Linked DNA regions of Homo sapiens: regions 2, 3, 4, 5, 6 and 7 are each linked to region 1. The links are contacts of gene promoters, found by promoter capture Hi-C in blood cells and fetal thymus (Javierre and others, 2016). All regions are on one chromosome and are shown on one strand. Each heading gives the region's core, a stretch centred on a gene start or on the middle of the fragment in contact. The rest is flanking DNA. Distances are from core to core; before and after follow the strand shown. Region 1 holds the start of PSMD7 (proteasome 26S subunit, non-ATPase 7). Region 2 has its middle 20 kb from the start of SYCE1L. Region 3 holds the start of MON1B (MON1 vesicular trafficking associated B). Region 4 holds the start of ZNF23 (zinc finger protein 23). Region 5 overlaps ZNF19 (zinc finger protein 19). Region 6 has its middle 3.3 kb from the start of TAT-AS1. Region 7 holds the start of MARVELD3 (MARVEL domain containing 3).

What was found. Contacts are between HindIII fragments. The CHiCAGO score rates a contact against its expected background, and 5 or more counts as called.
Region 2: a fragment that was not itself captured here is called in contact with the fragment with the promoter of PSMD7 in region 1 in 1 of 17 cell types (total CD8 T cells); the score reaches 5.3 in total CD8 T cells.
Region 3: the fragment with the promoter of MON1B here is called in contact with the fragment with the promoter of PSMD7 in region 1 in 4 of 17 cell types (neutrophils, naive CD8 T cells, activated CD4 T cells and 1 more); the score reaches 8.6 in neutrophils.
Region 4: the fragment with the promoter of ZNF23 here is called in contact with the fragment with the promoter of PSMD7 in region 1 in 1 of 17 cell types (activated CD4 T cells); the score reaches 6.4 in activated CD4 T cells.
Region 5: a contact is called between a fragment that was not itself captured here and the fragment with the promoter of PSMD7 in region 1, in 7 of 17 cell types (M1 macrophages, naive CD4 T cells, non-activated CD4 T cells and 4 more). The highest score is 10.0, in M1 macrophages.
Region 6: a fragment that was not itself captured here is called in contact with the fragment with the promoter of PSMD7 in region 1 in 1 of 17 cell types (fetal thymus); the score reaches 7.0 in fetal thymus.
Region 7: the fragment with the promoter of MARVELD3 here is called in contact with the fragment with the promoter of PSMD7 in region 1 in 1 of 17 cell types (M0 macrophages); the score reaches 6.0 in M0 macrophages.

The regions. Positions count from the first base shown.
Region 1 is chr16:74,295,296-74,298,063 of GRCh38, forward strand. PSMD7 (proteasome 26S subunit, non-ATPase 7) reads left to right here and starts at 1,519. Exons shown (of 7, transcript NM_002811.5): 1 at 1,519-1,693. The coding sequence starts at 1,620. RefSeq lists enhancers at 752-1,643, 1,434-1,743, 1,644-2,533. The HindIII fragment of the contact is 3,645 bases long and covers 852-2,768 here.
Region 2 is chr16:77,217,677-77,220,444 of GRCh38, forward strand. It overlaps the pseudogene VN2R10P. Among named protein-coding and RNA genes, the nearest start is that of SYCE1L, 20 kb to the left of the region's middle. The HindIII fragment of the contact is 3,666 bases long and covers 1-2,768 here.
Region 3 is chr16:77,189,868-77,192,635 of GRCh38, forward strand. MON1B (MON1 vesicular trafficking associated B) reads left to right here and starts at 1,323. Exons shown (of 6, transcript NM_014940.4): 1 at 1,323-1,391; 2 at 1,609-1,766. The coding sequence starts at 1,619. It overlaps LOC124903725, which reads right to left and starts at 699. Exons shown (of 1, transcript XM_047435021.1): 1 at 41-699. The coding sequence starts at 699. The coding sequence ends at 355. RefSeq lists enhancers at 1,041-1,989, 1,115-1,404, 1,425-1,474. The HindIII fragment of the contact is 24,724 bases long and covers 1-2,768 here.
Region 4 is chr16:71,460,832-71,463,599 of GRCh38, forward strand. It overlaps ZNF23 (zinc finger protein 23), which reads right to left and starts at 1,416. Exons shown (of 5, transcript NM_001381984.1): 1 at 1,379-1,416. LOC124903709 (a long non-coding RNA gene) reads left to right here and starts at 1,481. Exons shown (of 2, transcript XR_007065105.1): 1 at 1,481-2,461. RefSeq lists enhancers at 1,015-1,104, 1,375-1,534. The HindIII fragment of the contact is 7,082 bases long and covers 1-2,768 here.
Region 5 is chr16:71,478,799-71,481,566 of GRCh38, forward strand. ZNF19 (zinc finger protein 19) reads right to left here. Exons shown (of 6, transcript NM_006961.4): 4 at 81-207. Among named protein-coding and RNA genes, the nearest start is that of ZNF19, 9.1 kb to the right of the region's middle. The HindIII fragment of the contact is 7,433 bases long and covers 1-2,768 here.
Region 6 is chr16:71,560,303-71,563,070 of GRCh38, forward strand. No RefSeq gene overlaps it. Among named protein-coding and RNA genes, the nearest start is that of TAT-AS1, 3.3 kb to the right of the region's middle. RefSeq lists an enhancer at 1,438-1,939. The HindIII fragment of the contact is 2,438 bases long and covers 139-2,576 here.
Region 7 is chr16:71,624,776-71,627,543 of GRCh38, forward strand. It overlaps MARVELD3 (MARVEL domain containing 3), which reads left to right and starts at 1,409. Exons shown (of 3, transcript NM_052858.6): 1 at 1,409-1,921. The coding sequence starts at 1,455. RefSeq lists a silencer at 2,230-2,279. The HindIII fragment of the contact is 6,796 bases long and covers 1-2,768 here.

The DNA.
Region 1 (2,768 bases), core at 269-2,768:
TTAGAAGCTCAGAATTTCAGGTCCCATCTCAGACCTACAGAATCAGAATCTGAATTTTAACAAGGTCCCCTGGTGATTTGTAAGCATATCAAAGTTTGAGAAGCATTAATTAAAAGGATTAAATATTTGCGTCTGAACCAGGGCTGGCATATTATAGGCACTCAATAGATTCAATAATTCTTAGTTTTCTTTCCCCATTAACATAACCCTTATATCTTTCTAGTTATAATTAAGAATGAATGGCCAGGCACAGTAGCTCACACCTGTAATCCCAGCAGTTTGGGAGGCTGAGGTGGGAGGATTGCTTGAGGCTGGGGGTTTAAGACCAGCTTGGACAACATAGTGAGACACCAACTGTACCAAAAAAAAAAATGAAAAAATAAAGATAGCATTGAGTCTCTTCAATTAATTATGAATATTAAGCATATCCTGCCATTTACTTCCTTGCAGATCTAGCAGAAAATCTGAAAATAAAGCCAAGTTGCAGACAGAAGACAAAGATAAATTCACATGCAGACAAATTCAAACTCCTGACTACATTAATGTCTCTCATTGGTGGCCAAATTTCAGTCTAATCTTTGCTAATGTTTTTCACCACCCACAAATAAGAGAGACTGAGTGTGTCCCTTGACATTTGGAGATCAGGAAGTCCACCTTAAAAAGACAAGAGGCCAAAATGTTGGGAAAATCCTCTGGTGATAAAGGGAAAGCAAAAATTGTTTAAAAACAGAACAAAATATAAGTAAATAATTCAGGTTGCTTAAGTACTGTTTTCGTTTACAGAAACAGCAACTTCAAATGAGACGATATAAACCTGTATGATTTTTCTTATAATTTGCCTCCTGCAAATAAGCTTAAGTCTTTGTCTACCTTAGTCTTCTCTTTCCTAGCTACATATCACAACATACTTCCTTACTGCCTTCCTTCCGTCTTTTCTTCAACGCTTCTGTAAATTTTGATTTCAAAAGCAACGGCACAATTGCGTTCTTCTAGCCCTAGTTACGCAGTAATATAACGACAGGTGGAAACCTGCAGGTTGCCACGTTCATTGCAAAGTGTCCACAGTAAAGATAAAGGAGAAATTCCCCCGGCAATGAAAACGAGAATGAGATAAATTACCAAATTACATTAAAAGCGTGCTCTTATGTTAGAGATTTAAAGTTCCTCTCAGAAATCGCGGAGGATTTTGACCTGAAGCAAAAGTGAACTTCTTCCGGGTGGTAGAAAAGTAAACTGTCAACTATTTACTTTGGGGGGGTGGCGGGGGGAGGGTGCTGGGAAGGAATTGAGGCGAAAAGCCTCTGCAGGTGACGGTACAGGCCAATACCAGGAGGTCAAGTCGCCGGTGTCCCTTCGGCCCTTAAGTCCAGGGAAACGCACGGCGAGGGACGAGGGGCGATTCCCGCCTTTCTCCAGCCCTTTCTCCGCCCACAAATGACGGCGGTGGCGAAGATCCGGGCCCGCCGCGCGAGGCACTCTGGGAGCGGAAGAAGGAGGCCGCGCGAGGGCTGACGAACCGGAAGAAGAGGAACTGGGCCTGAAAGGGTACCGGTGACCGCTACTGCTGCCGGTGTTTGCGTGTGGCAGGGAGCCAGGCCTGGCGAGCGGGGTGTGTCGCGATGCCGGAGCTGGCAGTGCAGAAGGTGGTGGTCCACCCCCTGGTGCTGCTCAGTGTGGTGGATCATTTCAACCGGTGAGCGAGCGCCCTATAGCTGGGCCGGCGGCGCAGCCGCTGCTGAGTCACGGGCACGCTGGAGATGGCGCGGCGGCCGCGGACGAGCTGGGGACGCAGATAGGGCGGCTGGTGACCCTTACTTGTTCACGAGTCCAGACCAGCGTCGGCTCACGATGCCGGAGTCATCCAGCCTCCCGCCCCTGCCCCAGCCGCCGCCACTTCGGGGCCTTGGCTGCCTGTTCCGTTTAGCCTGTTTGTTTTACAGAGTTCCCTTTCCGAGTTCGTTTTGCCGAAGTTCGTTTTACCGAAATCTGGATGATGCTGGGGGTCGGGAGATGCGGCTAGCTTTAGTTGGCCCTGACCCCCGCCCCCAAGCTCGTGTCTGTCACTTCGTTTTGAAGTTCGTTTTGCCGAAATCTGGATAAAGCCAGGGTGGGGCGGAGGCGGGCTAGCTTCATTTGGCTCTGACCCCCGACCCCAGGGTCGTATCTTCATTTGACTCAGTTGATTTCACTGAAATGTGAATAATGCAAAGTGACTGATGTCTGGATGATGCTTGGGTGGGGCGGAGTGGGCTAGCTCCATTTAGCCCCGCCCCAAGGCTATGTTTATCTTCGTTTGACCGAATTGGTTTCACCGAAATATGGATGATGCTGGAGTGGGGTGCAGGGTGGCTACCTTCATTTGGCCCTGACCCCGGCCCCAGGGTCGTATTTATGTTTATCCTCGTTTAACCAAGTTGATTTCACCGAAATGTGAATGATGCAAAGTGAATGATGCCTGGATGATGCCGGAGTGGGGCTAAGGGGGCTAGCTTCAATTTGGCCCTGACCCCCGCCCCCAGGGTCGTATCTATGTTTGTCTTCATTTGACCGAGTTCCTGTTATCGAAATCTGGATGATGCTCAGCACCCCGAAGGGCTTCCTGGATCAGCTGTGGTTTTAACCCATTAACATTTTTAAATGGGAATCTGATTAGACTCCGTCTCAAAAAAAAAAATGTATATATAGATGAGGTTTCAGTTTTTATTTAAAACACGAGGCCGAGCATGGTGGCTCACGCCTGTAATCCCAGCATTTTGGGAGGCTGAGAC
Region 2 (2,768 bases), core at 190-2,689, 2.9 Mb after region 1:
TGGTCTCAAACTCCTGACCTCAGGTGATCCACCCACCTCAGCCTCCAAAAGTGCTGGGATTATAGGTGTGAGCCACTGCTCCCGGGCCCTAATGCTTTTATAATTTAGTTTATATTTGAACTATTTGGAATTTATTTTGTGTCTGTACATAATCTGGAGAGAATTTACTGAATAGCACATGTATCCCCCCAACTGCAATGCCATCCTCGCCATATACCAAATAATCATGTCTATTTTGGTCAATTTCTGAACTGTTTATTCTATTCCTTTATCTAGTTACCTATTTATACACAAATACCAAACTTTTTATTATTATACCCTTAAATAATATTATGAAACTCACTTGGTGAGACCTCCTCTATATTTTCCTACTGTTTCAGAATTTTTCAAGGGTAGTTTCTTTCCTATGCATACTCTAGAATCATATTGTCTATTTCCAAAAAAAAAAAAAAAACAAAAAAACAAAAAACCTGACTGGGCGCAGTGGCTCACAGCTGTAATCCCAGCACTTTGGTGGGCAGAGGCAGGCAGACTATGAGGTCAGGAAATCAAGACCATCCTGACTAACATGGTGAAACCCTGTCTCTACTAAAAATACAAAAAATTAGCTGGATGTGGTGGCACAAGCCTGTAGTCCCAGCTACTAGGGAGGCTGAGGCAGGAGAATCACTTGAACCCAGGAGGCGGAGGTTGCAGTGAGCAGAGATCACGCCACTGCACTCTAGCCTTGTGGCAGTGTGAGACTCTGTTTCAAAAAAAATTAAACAGCAGCAACAACAACAAAAAACCCCTATTATTATTTGATATTTGTATTGAATGAAATATATACATTAACATGCAGGAAATTAGTATCATTATATTGAGCCTTCTAAAGGAGAAAAGAGTCTGTTTTATCTGTTTAGTTTTTTTTTTTTTTTTTTTTGAGATAGCGTTTCACTCTTGTTGCCTAGGCTGGAGCGCAATGGTGTGATCTCAGTTGACCACAACCTCCGCCTCCCGGGTTCAAGCAATTCTCCTGCCTCAGCCTCCTGGGTAGCTGGGATTACAGGCATGCATCACCATGCCCAGCTAATTTTGTATTTTTAGAAGAGATAGGGTTTCTCCATGTTAGTCGGGCTGTTCTCCAACTCCCGACCTCAGGTGATCCGCCTGCCTTGGCCTCCCAAAGTGCGGGGATTACAGGCGTTAGTCACCGCACCTGGCCTAATTTTTATTTTATGTGTTCTTCTCCTCTGTATATCTCTTTGAATTCTATTTTACCTGATAATAATGTTGCTACAGTAATTTTTTTTTTTTGAGACTGAGTCTCACTCTGTTGCCCAGGTTGGAGTGCAGTGGCACTATCTCGGCTCACTGCAACCTCTGCCTCCTGGGTTCAAGCAATTCTCCTGCCTCAGCCTCCCGAATTGCTGGGATTACAGGCACCTGCCACCATGCCCAGCTAATTTTTTGTATTTTTAGTAGAGATGGGGTTTCACCATGTTGGCCAGGCTGGTCTTGAACTCCTGACCTCAGGTGATCCACCCACCTCAGCCTCCCAAAGTGCTGGAATTACAGGCGTGAGCCACCACGCCCGGACAATAAATGTATTTTTAGGAATATTTTTCTTCGTATGTTTCTTTACTTGACTGTCTATTTAGGTATCTAATTTTTCAGGGTTTGTTTAATAAAACTATACTGTCATTGATAATTCATAGCCTAATGAGGAAGGCAACCCAGGACAAAGGGTTCAAAGACACAGGTACATACTAGAGTGTGGGGAGGCATGCAGGCACATCCTAATGCAGGTAATGTTGACTACGTTGTTAAAGGCAAGTAGGAATTAGTCAAGCAAAGAAGAGAGCAAAAGAAACTCCCTGTTGAAGAAGGTCATGGCAAAGCGAGAAGGCATGAGCACTGTGAGTATGATACATAAATCTCTACATCAGAATCTTTTGATCCAGTGTTTAGTTTATGACAAAAGATAAGGCCAGAAACCTATGTACAAACAAGATGATTAAGACCTTTCCTGCCACATCAAGCTGATGGAATTCTACCTCGAAATGTGGAAGGGATACACTAAGAAATATTTAGCTATTAGAACCTGAGGGCCTCTTTGATACCTGTTAAAAGTTGAACAGGTCCCCATTCTTAATAAGGCATCTGGTTCAGTGTAAATTCTTAGAAAATAATTGTCATTTGTGTAAATAATCCAGGAGAAGGCAGAGGTCAGGAAATGTTTTTCTTAGCGGGCCAAATAGTAAATATTTTAGACTTTGCAAGCCAAGAGGTGAAATTGAAAGTATGTAAATACTTGTATAACCATTTAAAATGCAACCATCTAAAAGTATTAAAACATTCATAGATTATAAGCCCTATAAAATTACTAATGGCTAGATTTGACCTGTAGGCTATAGTTTGTGGACTCTTGGCCTAGAGAATGGATATTTAAATTTTTAAGGGAGTATAATGCTTTCATTATGAAAGAAAATGGAAAATAATTCGTTGGCATGTGGAGAAATGAACAATGAGAGAAAATGTTATTTTGGGAAATAAAACCAAGGAGAGAATTGGCATGTTAGTTTGAAATTATTGCTTCTGTAACATGCTAAAAAGCATGACATTTGAGTATAGCACTGAGATGGACAAGGTGCCCTACAAGGCCAAAAATGACTTTTTTGTTTCTGGGAATCAGTAAGGATTTATGAATCTTGAACAAAAAACCATTGCTTTGTTTTTCAGATACTATTCAGTATAAGAAGTGTCCAGATGATCAATATCAGAATAGT
Region 3 (2,768 bases), core at 73-2,572, 2.9 Mb after region 1:
GCACTCCAGCCTGGGTAACACAGCGAGATTAATAAATAAGTTTGCTTATGAGATGTTATTTTATTGTACTTTTTTACATGTTTATTATATATTATATACTTCTAAATGTATTAGGTAAATATATTTTGTATGCACATAAATTTATCCATTGTTTCTGTTATATAAATTTAATATTTATTACTTATCGATTACCTATTGTATATAAAGCACATGATGCTACACTGGTATTTGGAATTCATTACCCTAACTATACTGTAATTAAAATAATTATCCTAACTAGTACCAAAGGCTTCCCCTTAGCAATCACTCGAAGTGTGCCAGCACCTCCACTCACTTCACGTCAAGCGATTCCCATCATTGTTTCACTGATGGAGAAACCAAGGCCCAGGGCACTTGGGGCAAGGCGTTCAGGGGGCTTTCGGTCCGGAAGCAGCGTCGGGGCGGGAATTCGAACCCTGGGTTCCCACACTGGCCCGTGGCAGGGCCCCCAAGCCTTTTCCCAAACTGATCACAGAAAGTGACGACCCGTTCGCCCGGCGGACCGGGGGCGTCGGGCAGGTCCTGGTCCAAGTGAGTGCCCGCCCCTGCCCTGGGCTGGCAGAGTTCTTCCCCCAGCTGCAGGTAGACGTGGGAACCCGGCAGGGTACGGAGCTGCTGGCGCGGCACGCTGATTAGAAGCGGCGACTGCCCGTCAAGCATTCGCGCCTCTCCCCTCCCTTGACTTTCTTGGCAGGGTTAAGGGATAAGAGAAAGTGGAGTTGCCTCAGTTCTGGGAGAGCCCGTTTGTGGGTCCGGCACAGGTATCCATCGGGACTGACGCTGCAAAAGTCCTCTTGTGAAACAAGGAATAGGCTCGAGTCTTCGATTGGGTCGAGGGAGACGTCAATCAATGGATGGGCGTGTGCAAACGCAACACAACGCACAGTATTGGTTAGGATTTGGCGGGGGGAGTAGACAGCGGGGAAATGAGGCGGCTCATCTCGATTGGCCCAGAAAGAAGACGGTCGCGCCCTATGTACTCCGGGATTGGCTAGAGCGAGCCGCGTCCCCCCTCACGCCAACCACTGGTAAGCGAAGTGGGCCTCGCTCTCCCGGGTTAGCAGCCGTAGCCAGATCCGTTGAAAGGAGTGCAGAGAGGTCTCATTGCGCTCCCGAACAGACCTGACGTAGATCCGAAGTGGCCCGCGCCATCTCAACTATGAGGGGACACCCGTAGGCGGCGGGAGAGGGACGCCGCGAGGAGCCAATAAAGCTCCGCAACCGGAAGTGTCTTCTGGGAGGGGTCGTACCCGGAAGTGTGGCACCTCCCGGGCCGCACCCGGAAGTGTGATGCCACCGCCGCTACGGGGAAGTAATGGTATCCGGCCAATTGAGATTCGGAGTTAAAACAGGTGTTTGTATATCTCTATTTCCTGAGGCCCAGTAGAGTCTCCTCTTTTCGGAAAGTGTTGGAGGGGGGACGTATTTGGGCATGATTTTGGATGTCTCGTCCTATTGAAATCCGTGGGGAAATGAGCAGTAGGAGTGTGTCCAAGGGGGCCTGACTCTATAAAGGCTTTTCAGAAGTTTCTTTCACCGCCCGTCACCCTCGATTCCCCTCCCACTCAGGGATGTGCAGATGGAGGTCGGAGGAGACACTGCTGCCCCGGCCCCCGGGGGCGCGGAGGACTTGGAGGACACGCAGTTCCCCAGTGAGGAAGCTAGAGAAGGTGGAGGGGTTCACGCGGTCCCGCCGGATCCCGAAGACGAGGGCCTGGAGGAAACAGGTATGACTCCACTTAGTGGGGTCTTAAAAGGAATCCTTAGGGGTTGTCATTGTTGGACGGGGGAAGGGTCAGTGGGTGACCAGTAGGGAGTCTTGGGACTTAAGAGAAGTGGCTTAAACCATCGCCGGGTCAGGAGGAGGTCACTGTGGACACATGGTGTAGTTTACATCATTGAGGAAGTCATTGGCTGTCAACGGATGTTCACTGGGGGTTTGGTGTGAGTTTAGGTCATTGAGGAATCAAAAAGGGGGCTGTTAGGACCAAAGAGGGTCACTGAGGATTTAGAGTGTTTAGATCAAAGAATGCGCTGAAGAAAGTCAATAGACTCAACAGAGGAGGACTGTTGAGAAGTTAGTGTTTTTGAGGAGTAGGGTGTTATTTATTAAATAATAGAAGTGGGAAGGGGAATCAGTGGAGTTCGATGGGCACTCAGAGTATTTACATCATTGAAGTCACTTGTAGACTGTTGGGGAAGTCTTTAAGGGACCAAATGTTAGTGGATGTGTAAAGTTGTTCATTTGAGATTTAATGGAAGTCACTGAGAAGTCTGTGCCATTGATCACTTTGGAATTAGTGGATGTAAATGGAGTCATTGGGAAGGATCAGTGGACCTCACTGAGAATAAATGTGGATGGGGAGGTTGAGGACTTGGGAATTAATAGCAGGTAAGAGCAGTTATTAGGAGGGAGTAAAGATATTTGGGGACATGGGAGTGTCAGTGAATGTCAGTGACAGAATATGCAATTATTGGGATTTTATGGGAAAATTATTGAGACATAGTTGCACATGGATAATAATGGTTGTCATTGGGGGATGAATGGAAATCAATGGGAATAAATGGATGTGTCAGTAGGGGCTGTTGAAGTTGTGGGTTTTAGTGAATGTTAATGATGGTCATGGGTAGGGGCAATGGAAGTCATTAAAGTCTTGTGTGTTAGTGGATATTATGATGGTTACTGTAGGGAGGGGAGTGGATACCAATGAGATTGAAGGTGGTCAGGG
Region 4 (2,768 bases), core at 166-2,665, 2.8 Mb before region 1:
TATGTAGGAAGTACGTACAAAAATATTATCAGCACATTTTAATAACAAAACACTGAAAACAACCCACATGTCCATTGAAAATACATCGATAAATTTTCATACAGTTTTTACAATGGAACATTACCCAGAAGCTACACACAGAATGAATTTGGAAACTTAACATTGAATTATGCGAGTCCCAGATGACTTATACACACAATGGTGCCATTTATATGAAGCTCAAAAAAAAAATTTAAGTACATTGCTTACAGATACATGCATATGTAATTATTTTTTAAAATAACAGGGCTACAATTAACACAAAAGTCAATATAACTGTTACCTCTAGGGGTTGGAGGCTGGGAGTTGGGTTGAGGAGGAGGAACACATTGATAAATTCAGCAGTACTGGCAATCTTCTCTTTCTTAATTGGGTGGTGTGTTCATGGATGTTTACTACTATATATGTAACATATAAATATATATTTTAAATAAATATATAAACCAGCAAGGATGGGGTGAAATTGAGGACCCAAAATGTAATACAAAGAACAGCCAATGTGCTTAACTATACTACAGTGAACATAACCACACTTAAGTGGTAGGAAAGAAAAGGGGTAAGCAACTTTGGAAAACAGTATTTTGACTAAATACCATAAGAGTAAAGACAAAAAGACCTGTATCCAAGTACTGTACTTTAGGTAGTAAATTTGCTTTTCATGGGGGTATGAATTAGCGATTCTGAGACTACTAAATATATTCTAAAACTGAGTGAATTCGTAATTACGTTGTAGAAGTCATTCCCAGGTCACTGTCAACCCTGAGCCGAGAGAAGCAGGGCTGAGTTACCTTTTGGGACTGACACTGCTCCAGGAGACAATGTCCTCCAAAAGCCGGGCTGCTTCTGCTGCCGGGTGACTGGGAGGGGCTCTGCGCTCCCACTCGGCCCTAATTCATGACCCTATGTCAGGAGCCTGGGAGCACACGGTCCATACTCGGGATGCACATAGGTTAATGTTCCTGCCAGACCTCAGCATGTCAAAAGACTTGTGGTATCACCTCGGGCCGCTTCACGCCCGCAAATATTCCATCTTTTAGCTGCACCGACACATCTTCCCCCGTCGACCAAGTGCTAAATGCTCAGGGCCTCGTGGCTGGGACAGCAACGTGCGTTTCCCCTTCCAATGGGCGCAAGCTATTGAGCCACAAAGACCAAAGCTGGAGTCGAGGAGCGCGGAAGAGCACCCCGGGCCGCCGCCCTGCTCCCTCTCCCAGCCTGGGCCTCCTGGCAGCGTAGGCCACGGGAGACCCTGCAGCACCCAGGGTGGGAGTGCGTCTCAACCGGACCCAGAGCCTGGGGGACAGGGCACGGCACACAGCGCCCGGAGCCCTGCACTCACCTCCGTAGCGGACTGCTCCCCGGCGCTGCCGGAAGTGCGTCACCAGGCGGCCGGGCCTCTCTAGGAGCAAGGTCGCTGCGCCTCGGTGGTGGTCACGCCCGGCCAGCTGTGGCCGCATCCCTGTCGGCTAGCTCGGGTCTGGCCCACGGTGACTGTTACCCCTGGGGAATGGGGCAGGTAAGAATCAGAGCCAAGCGGGGACCCAGCCCGGGGAGGTGAAGCTGCAGGTGCAGCCACGTGTGGGAGTCTTGGAAATGGACCAGTGGATGGCGCGCTGTCACACCCAATGCCCCCTTTTTCTAACAAATAGTTTGTAATGTCCATCTTATTCTCCTGACCTGATATTCATATATAATGGCCTAGAAAATCATACATAACATACACACCTACATATTAAAAACTAATGTTATGCCTTAAGTGTAATGAAAGAGAAAAAAAAGAGGACCGTCATCTGTCGTTTAAAAACACATACTTCAATGTGTTTGGTCTTGGCTGCTGCAGGAGACCTAATAAGGTGGTCGCCTTTACACATAGACGTTGTCTGAGTGCCACAGCCACAAAGCTGTGACTTACATTGTTGCAAAAGTCACAAAATTATGATCCAAAATGGCAAACATGTTTTCGTGAAGTTCTGAATGAAACACAGGACAATCGTCTCTTGATTATACAATAATTACATTCCTGGAAGATCAGTGTATGTTAAAACTGTGCAAAAATACATGTTTATCCAGAAAACAGGTTTAGATTCAGATAATTTAGAAATAGAATTTTCACCTACCTGAATGTTCAGCAAGACATTTGAAAGTGTGAACATTTTTTCAGTGGGCAGGACTGTCCTGTACATTGCAGGATCCTGGCTCCTATCCACAACGCTAGTAGCAATGTTACCACTGACACCAAATATAACAAAATACCTACCATAAAATTCCAAAATGAGCCCTGGGGGAAGGGAGACAGTACTAAATGCCACTGGATTGGACGACCCTTAAAATCCCCACCCCCTCACACACCCCCTAACCCTGGTAATGTGGGCTTTTCTTCCTTCCAGCTCTGATCCATCCAACGCTGCTGCACTGGAGACTGGTATTTGGCTCCCACTTGCCTCTGTGGCTTCTTATCACTCCCATTCATTCCCTGACTCTACCTCAGCCCTACATGCTAAAAATGCTGTTCTCTAAATCTAGAATGCCCTTCCCTTCCCATTCCTACCCTCCATCTTGACTGTTACTGGAAGTGTGAGCTCAAATCCCATTTTGCATGGGAAGCAAGCCTTCCCTCATCACCCAGAATAAGGCAGGACACTCATTTATGTGCCATCACAGCACTGTGTACTTACTTAATGGTGATAGTTTATTTATATGTCTGTCTTCTCTGGTGGCTGCAGGGAACA
Region 5 (2,768 bases), core at 163-2,662, 2.8 Mb before region 1:
CACTCCTCCCCCCAGGCTGTAAAAGAAGGAAGGAAACTGGAAAAGTACAGATCTGAGTCCTAGGAGGAAAATGGCCTTACCCAAAGCAGTCAGGTTCCCAAAATTCTCCAACATCACACTTCTGTACAGGGCCCTCTGGGCAGGAGAAAGGCCAGTCCATTCTGTCTTGGTGAAGTGCACAGCCACATCCTCGAAGGTCACCATCTCCTAAAACAACAGGTTCCTGCTGCCCCAGAGCCAATCCTCTGGCTCCGGGCCAGAGTGTGGGGCAGAGGGGACAGGTAGGGACTTGAGGGAAAGTCCTGTGAGGGATAGGTAATGAGAAAATGTGACAGAACTGGATATTAGACCATTATATGACTATTTTTACAACGAAAAATCTGGAACTTCTCTCACTACCAGAAGAGATTCCATTAGGATATAAAATTGACTGTCATAAAATGTGATTTAACATTTTTTAAACCCTAGGAAAAAAAGTCTCTTATTAGTTAACCTTCCTAGGGCAAAAATCTCTTTGATTTAGTAAATATTTTCAGTCTTTTACTTTTGTACCTACAGGTGGACAATTTGCTTCAAATGGTATCTCAGGACCCACCTATTCCTATTAGGTACTCCCTATTCTCAGCCAATCTATCTGTTCCCCACATGTGTTCACCCTGCCCCAAACCTTATGCCCATGAAACAAGCACAGAGTCATGGTTTGCACTGATGGGCCTATCTCATCCGACTCCCATTCGATTCTTGTATAAAGGACTGGGCTGCCTGTGCTCAAGAGCATCCTGTAGAGGGAGCTCAGAGTCTCCTGGCACAATCCACTCTGCTCCTTGATGGCTTTTCCTAGAAAACCATGCTTCTAGAATTAAATTGCTGCTGCTGGGTAGCTCTTTTAGCTCCTTATCTTTATAGCTCCAAGACAATCTGTAATAGCTTCTGCCAACCAAGCCTCATGCTTCTTGGGTTTTTTTTTCTTTCTTTCTTTCGGTTTTGGTTCTTTTTCTCTTTTTTTTCTGTTTTTGACAGTGTCTTGCTCTGTCACCCAGGTTGGAGTGCAGTGGCACAATCTCAGCTCACTGCAGCCTCGACCTCCCAGCTCAGGTGATCCTCCCGCCTCAGACTCTTGAGTAGCTGGGACTATAGGTGCACACCACCATGCCAGGCTAATCTTTGTATTTTCTGTAGAGACAAGGTTTTGCCACGTTCCCCAGGCTGGTCTCAAACTCCTGGACTCAAGAGATCCGTCTGCCTCGGCCTCCCAAAGTGCTGGGATTACGGGAATGAGCCACCATGCCCAGCCCCTCATGCTTTTTCAACAGACACCCTTCTCCCTCCCTGCTGGCCTCAACTCTACCTTTCCACAAAGTTCTGGCATCTGGTTTAGAGCCTCTATTCACTCCTCAGATGTTGGTATTGAACTTCGTTACCGGAGTGCTCAGGGAATACACTCCGACCTTCCAATGCCTCAACTGATTTTGCACATATCCACATCCCCCTCATCCCAGCACTGCCTCAGACTCTCTGGATGACCCAACACACTGACTCACCAAGCAACCCCAAACTCATCTTCCCCAAAATGGCTTCCTTTCTAATTTATATAAACTAAGTGGCAGTGTGACAATATTTTTCCCTCTCTGTTGATAACACCAATTTCAACCCAGTCTCTAATGCTAGAACTTCAGATTAATCCTAGACATTCTAACCCCCATCATCACTCATTGCTGACAGTTAATACTCAAGTCCTGCCAATTTTATTACCTACGTTATTTCTGGAATCTGACTCTTCTTCACTGTGGTACAATCAGTAAACTAGGTCAACAGCTGGGGACACTTTAGCTCTACTTCCAGTCTTGTCCCACACTGAATCTATCCTCTGCCCAGCTGACAACCTGACTTCATCAACTCCTGAATGAACCTCTTGAATGAATCACCACTAACTAGAGCAGTGGTATTCAGAGTGTGGTCTCCAGACCACCACCAGTAGCGGATGCAACACTTGGGAATTTGTTAGGCAAATTCTTGGGCCCCACTCTGAGAGAAGTCCATACTTCAGTGAGCCCTCCAGGTAATTCTGATGTACACTGAAGTCTGAGAACCCTGGATTGGAGGATAAAATCCAAACTCAGGAAACTGAGCTGTATTAGGTGACAAAGTGATGGAAAGGTGCACAACTATACACAGAGAATCTATCCGGGAAGCGCTGCAAACAAAATTCCAGAGAAGGAACAACAAACTCTAAATGTAATCTGAAAGATGGCACAAGTGGCAGAGAGAGAAGGAAAAACAACAAGACTTTGTGTCTCTCTGGAAATGGTATCAGGGGAGAACATAGTCAACAATTACACAGCAATTTAGAAACTGAGTGATCAGGACTGCAATATAGTGTGATGTCAGACACTTGTGGAAAAACCAGAAGAGGGTGGGAGCTCCAAGGAAGCTGATATATCAGTGACACAGTCAGGTAGAGAAAACTGAAGGATGTGAGAAATATGAGATTATGATTTGGGATATGGTTCATGGATACTAAGTTACTGGATAAATAAGTGCCAGGAGAAAAGAAATGACAAAGCAGCAACTCCGTCTCAAAAAGTGAAATGTAATTCAAGAAATCAATTCTCTGTCCCAAAAATGTAAGGTACTTATGTTCACCTTACAAATGAATCCAGTTAAGATGCAAAGCAATTATGTGACTGGCTCAAGGCTATGATGCCACTGAGGCCTAACAGATCCCTAACTTCAGGTGTCCTGTTGGGAGTGTAGACTTTTCCTATCAC
Region 6 (2,768 bases), core at 108-2,607, 2.7 Mb before region 1:
TCCATAGGCAGAAGAAAATGCCTTTTCATTTTGATTATGTTCTTTGATGCACAAAGGTTTTTAAGTTCCATTTTTCCTTTTGTTGCCTATGCTTTTGGTGTCATATCCAAGAAATCATTGCCAAATCCAGTATCATGAAGCTTTCCTCCCATGTTTTCTTCTAGGAGTTTTATAGTTTGGGGTATTACATTTAGGTCTTTAGTCTATTTTGAGTTAATTTTTATATATGGTGTAATATAAGGGCCCAGTTTCCTTTGCATGTGGATATCTAGTTTTCCCAAAACCATTTGTTGAAGACACTTTTCTTTCCCCATTCAGTCATCTTGGCACCCTTGTCAAAGATCATTTGACCATATATACAAGGGTTTATTTCTTGGCTATTCTATTTCATTGGCCCATTTATCTGTTTTTATGCCAGTACCACACTGTTCTGATTACTGTGGTTTCGTAATATCTTTTGAAATCAGAAAGTGTGACTCCTTCAACTTTATTCTTCCTTTTCAAAATTTTTTTTGGTTATTCAGGGTCCCTTGAGATTTTGTGTGAATTTTAGGGTGATTTTTTTCTATTTTGAAAAAAAATGCTATTGGGATTTTGATATGGATTGTGTTGAAATCTATTGATCACTTGGGGCAGCATGAATATCTTCACAGCATTAAGTACTGCAATCCATGAGAATGGGACGCCTTCTCATTTATTTGTGTCTCCTTTAGTTTCTTACAGCAATGTTTTGTAGTTTTGATTGTACAAATCTTTTTATTTTTTTTCTGAGACAGAGTCTTGCTCTCTCACCCAGGCTGGAGTGCAGTGGCATGATTGCAGCTCACTGCAGCCTCCACCTCATGGGTTCAAGCAATTCTCCTGCCTCAGACTCTTGAGTAGCTAGGATTACAGGTGTGCACCACCATGCCCAGCTAATTTTTGTATTTTTAGTAGAGATGGGTATTCACCATGTTCATCAGGCTGGTCCCGAATGCCTGACCTCGTGATCCACCCACCTTGTCCTCCCAAAGTGCTGGGATTACAGGCATGAGCCACCATGCCCAGCTGATTGTACAAATAATTTACCTCCTTGCTTAGGTTTATTCCTAAGTATTTTATTCTTTTCGATGCTGTTGTAAGTGGAACTGTTTTCTTAATTTTCTTTTTGGATTGTTCATTGTTAGTGTATAGAAAAGCAACTGACTTTTGCATATCAATTTTGTATTCTACAATTTTGCTGAATTTGGTTATTAGTTCTAACAGAGTTTTTGTGGAATCTTTTAAGGTTTTCTACATATAAGATCATGTCATCTGTGAACAAAGATAATTTTACTTCTTCCTTTCCAATTTGAATGCTACTGGGGGAACCAGCCCCCAATATTTCAACATGGTTCTTTCTATTTTCCCTAAGTGTCGGCTGGTCTGAGAAATAAAGAGAAATAGTACAAAGAGAGGAATTTTACAGCTGGGCCTCTGGGGGTGACATCACATATTGGTAGGACCGTGATGATGACCCCGAGCCGCAAAACCAGCAAGTTTTTATTAGGGATTTTAAAAGGGGAGGGGGTGTACAAACAGGGAGTAGGTCACAAGGATCACATGCTTCAAAGGGCAATAAAGATCACAAGGCAAGGCAAAATTAGAATTACTGATGAGGGTCTATGTCCCACTGTGCACACATTGTCTTGATAAACATCTTAACAGGAAACACGGTTCAAGAGCAGAGAACTGGTCTGACTAGAATTTACCAGGCTGGAATTTCCCAAAGCCTGAGGGTACTGCAGGAGACCAGGGCGTATTTCAGTCCTTATCTTAACGGCGTAAGACAGACACTCCCAGAGCGGCCGTCTATAGACCTACCCCCAGGAATGAATTCCTTCCCCAGGGTTACTCCTTGCTGGGAAAAGAATTCAGCAGTATTTCTCCTACTCACACATCCGTCTATAGGCTTTCTGTGAGAAGAAAAATATGGCTGTATTCTGCCTGACCCCGCAGGCAGTGAGACCCTATGGTTATCTTCCCTTGTTCCCTGAAAATCACTGTTATTCTGTTCTTTTTCAGGGTGCACTGATTTCATATTGTTCAAACACACCTGTTTTACAATCAGATTTCATATTGTTCAAACACACATGTTCTACAATCAATTTGTACAATAGTGGTCCTGAGGTGACGTACATTCTCAGCTTACAAAGATAACAGGATTAAGAGATTAAAGTAAAGACAGACATAAGAAATTATAAGAGTATTATTAGGGAAGTGATAAATGTCCATGAAATCTTCACAATTTATGTTCAAAGATTGCAGTAAAGACAGGCGTAAGAAACTTTAAAAGTATTAATTTTGGGAATTGATAAATGTCCATGAAATCCTCATAATTTATGTTCTTCTGCCTCAGCTCCAGCTGGTCCCTCCATTTGGGGTCCCTGACTTCCTGCAACACAATGCCTTTTATTTCTTTTTCTTGTCTTATTGCTCTGGCCACTACTTCCAATACTATGTTGAATCAAAGTGGTGAAAGTGGGCATCCATGCTTTTTTCCTGATCTTAGAAAAAGAGATTTTAGTCTTTCACCATTGAGTATGAAGTTAAATATAAGCTTTTCTTTTCTTTCTTTGTTTCTTTCTTTATTTGGAGATGGAGTCTTGCTCTGTCACCCAGGCTGGAGTGCAGTGGCACGATCTTGGCTCACTACAGCCTCTGCCTCCTGGGTTCAAGCAATTCTCCTGCCTCAGCCTCCTGAGTAGCTGGAACTACAGGCATGTGCCACCACGCCTGGCTAATTTTTG
Region 7 (2,768 bases), core at 159-2,658, 2.7 Mb before region 1:
CTATATGAGGAAACCTGCCCTTCCCATTAAACTTTAGACACTGTCTTCTTTGTTTACTACCTGTTTTCCCTTTTCCTGACACACTAGAATGCAATCACCCTGCAAGCAAATTTTCCACTATATCTCCAGTACCTGCTAAAGCAGGTGCTCATACATATTTGCTGAAAGAATTAATTACCAGATGGCAATTGTATATATTTTGTAATATCCTTACTTGGCAGAATTAAAAGCTGCCAATTTTGTGTAAGTCCCCATTTTAAAAAACAGGGCTATTTGTAAGCCCAGGACTATTGTGATAGATGAACTGGCTGCAAGCCCCTTACAACATAGGTGTTATAAGGAAAACAGGAGAAGGGAGAAAGAGGGACAGTGGATGGGTGGAGGGAGAAGTGGAAGGTGGGTGACTGGGTGGATGTGTGGGTAGGTTAGTGGCCAGATGGATGGATGAATGGGTGAGTGGATGAATGGTGGATGGGTGGATGCGTGGGTGGGTGGCTGGATGGGTGAGTGGGTGGATGAATGGGTGGATGGATGGGTGAGTTGGTAGATGGGTGGGTGAGTGGGTGGGTGGATGGGTGGATGAGTGAATGGGTGGGTGGATGGATGGTGGATGGGTGGGTGAGAGTGGATGGTTAGGTGAGTGGGTGGATGGATGGGCAGGTGAGTGGGTGAGTGGGCGGATGGTAGATGGGTGGGTGGATGGGTGGGTGAGTGGGTGGATGGGTGGATGGATGGATGGAGGGTGGGTGGGTGGGCGGATGGGCAGGTGAGTGGGCGGGTAGATGGGTGGTGGATGGGTGGGTGAGTGGGTGGATAGATGGATGGATGGGTGGATGGTTAGATGGGTAGGTGAGTAGGTGGATAGGTGGATAGACGGGTGTATGGATGGGTGAGTGGTTGAATGGGTGGATGGTTGGACGGGTGGGTGAGTGGGTGGATGGGTGGATGGATGGTGGATGGGTGGGTGAGTGGGTGGATGGGTGGGTGAGTGGGTGGATGGGTGGGTGAATGGATGAGCGGGTAGTGGGTGATTGGGTGAATGAATGAGTGTCTGGCTGAGTGAGTGAGAGGATGGGTACCTCTGGGAAGGTAAATCCAAGTTGCAGTGTAAGTTGAGCCAGGGGAGGTGGCCACAGTTGGCTCCCTTAGGCCGCCCACCTCGTGGGGTCACCAAGGGGTTACTTCGGGGCAGAAAGGTGCGGCTGTGGGTCGCCCCGCCCGGGTTTCCAGCAGCAGCACCCCAGCCCCCACCCAGCACACAGGCACCCCTCCCGCCCGGGCCCCAGACGCGCTCAGGCCGCCCCCTGAGGGCGCCCGTTCTCAGGTGAGCTCCCGGACTAGCGCGCATGCGCACAGGTGAGTGCCCGCCCCGCCCCCGGGCTTGGCCACCTGCCCAAGAAACTTGTTGGTTGTTGCCCTCAGGTCGCTCCCGGGCGGGGACACGGAACCCGGCCATGGAAGATCCGTCGGGGGCTCGCGAGCCCCGGGCCCGGCCGAGAGAGCGGGACCCGGGACGGCGCCCCCACCCAGACCAAGGCCGCACCCACGATCGACCGCGGGACCGACCCGGGGACCCGCGCAGGAAGCGAAGCAGCGACGGGAACCGGCGAAGGGACGGGGACCGGGACCCGGAGAGAGACCAGGAGAGGGACGGGAACCGCGACCGGAACCGGGACCGGGAGAGGGAGAGAGAGAGGGAAAGAGACCCGGACCGAGGCCCCCGCCGGGACACACACAGGGACGCGGGCCCTCGCGCAGGTGAACACGGAGTTTGGGAAAAACCGCGCCAAAGCCGGACGCGGGACGGAGCCCGGGGACTGACCTGGGACGCAGCCGCGCCTCCTGGGCCCGCGCCCTGGGAAGCCCCGGAGCCGCCGCAGCCGCAGAGGAAGGGAGACCCCGGGCGCCGCAGACCCGAAAGGTGAGAGGGGCCGGGGCGCTGCGACCTCCGCGCCGGGGACACCTGTGGCCCAGGCCGGCCCGCGAGGCCCTGGCGTCCCCGGGTTCTCGTCCTAGGAGCCCGTTTAAATGAACAAATGCCGTTTCTCCCTTCTGCGCTCTCAGAGGCGACCTGGCAGGGAAGGAAAACTTTAGGGTTCCCCCTTCTCGTGGCCTGAACCCAACTAACAAAGCAAAAACCACCCCTGTGAGCAGTGGCTGGGCTGGAGGACCTGGAGAAGAGAAAGAGAGGCCCCGGGACCCGAGAGGGAGGGGTGGGAGGAGACCAGGCGGGTGGGGTTCACCCCAGGCTCCTCCCCGGCCCGGCCCGCATGGTCACAGGACTGCGCCTTGGGGTTCAGACCCTTGTCCCGTGTTCCAGAGCCAGCCCTTCCCGACTCCAAAGTCCCCTTCCTTGTGGCCGGGCCGCCCACTTGGGAAGCCCGATGAAGAGTTAATAGTTTAATGTGTTACCCCTCCCAGGAATAGGTGCCTTCAGAAACAGGTGGGCCGGCGCGGTGGCTCATGCCTGTAATCCCAACACTTTGGGAGGCCGAGGCGGGCGGATCACCTGAGGCCAGGAGTTCGAGACCAGCCTGGCCAACATGGTGAAACCCCGTCTTTACTAAAAATACAAAAACTTAGCCAGGCGTGATGGCAGATGCCTGTAATCCCAGCTACTTGGGAGGCTGAGGAGGGAGAATCGCTTGAACCCGGGAGGCGGAGGTTGCAGTGAGCCGAGATCGCACCACTGCACTCCAGCCTGGGCGACAAAGCGAGACTCCGTCTCAAAAAAAAAAAAAAAAGTCAGATGGGAGACGCTACATTTT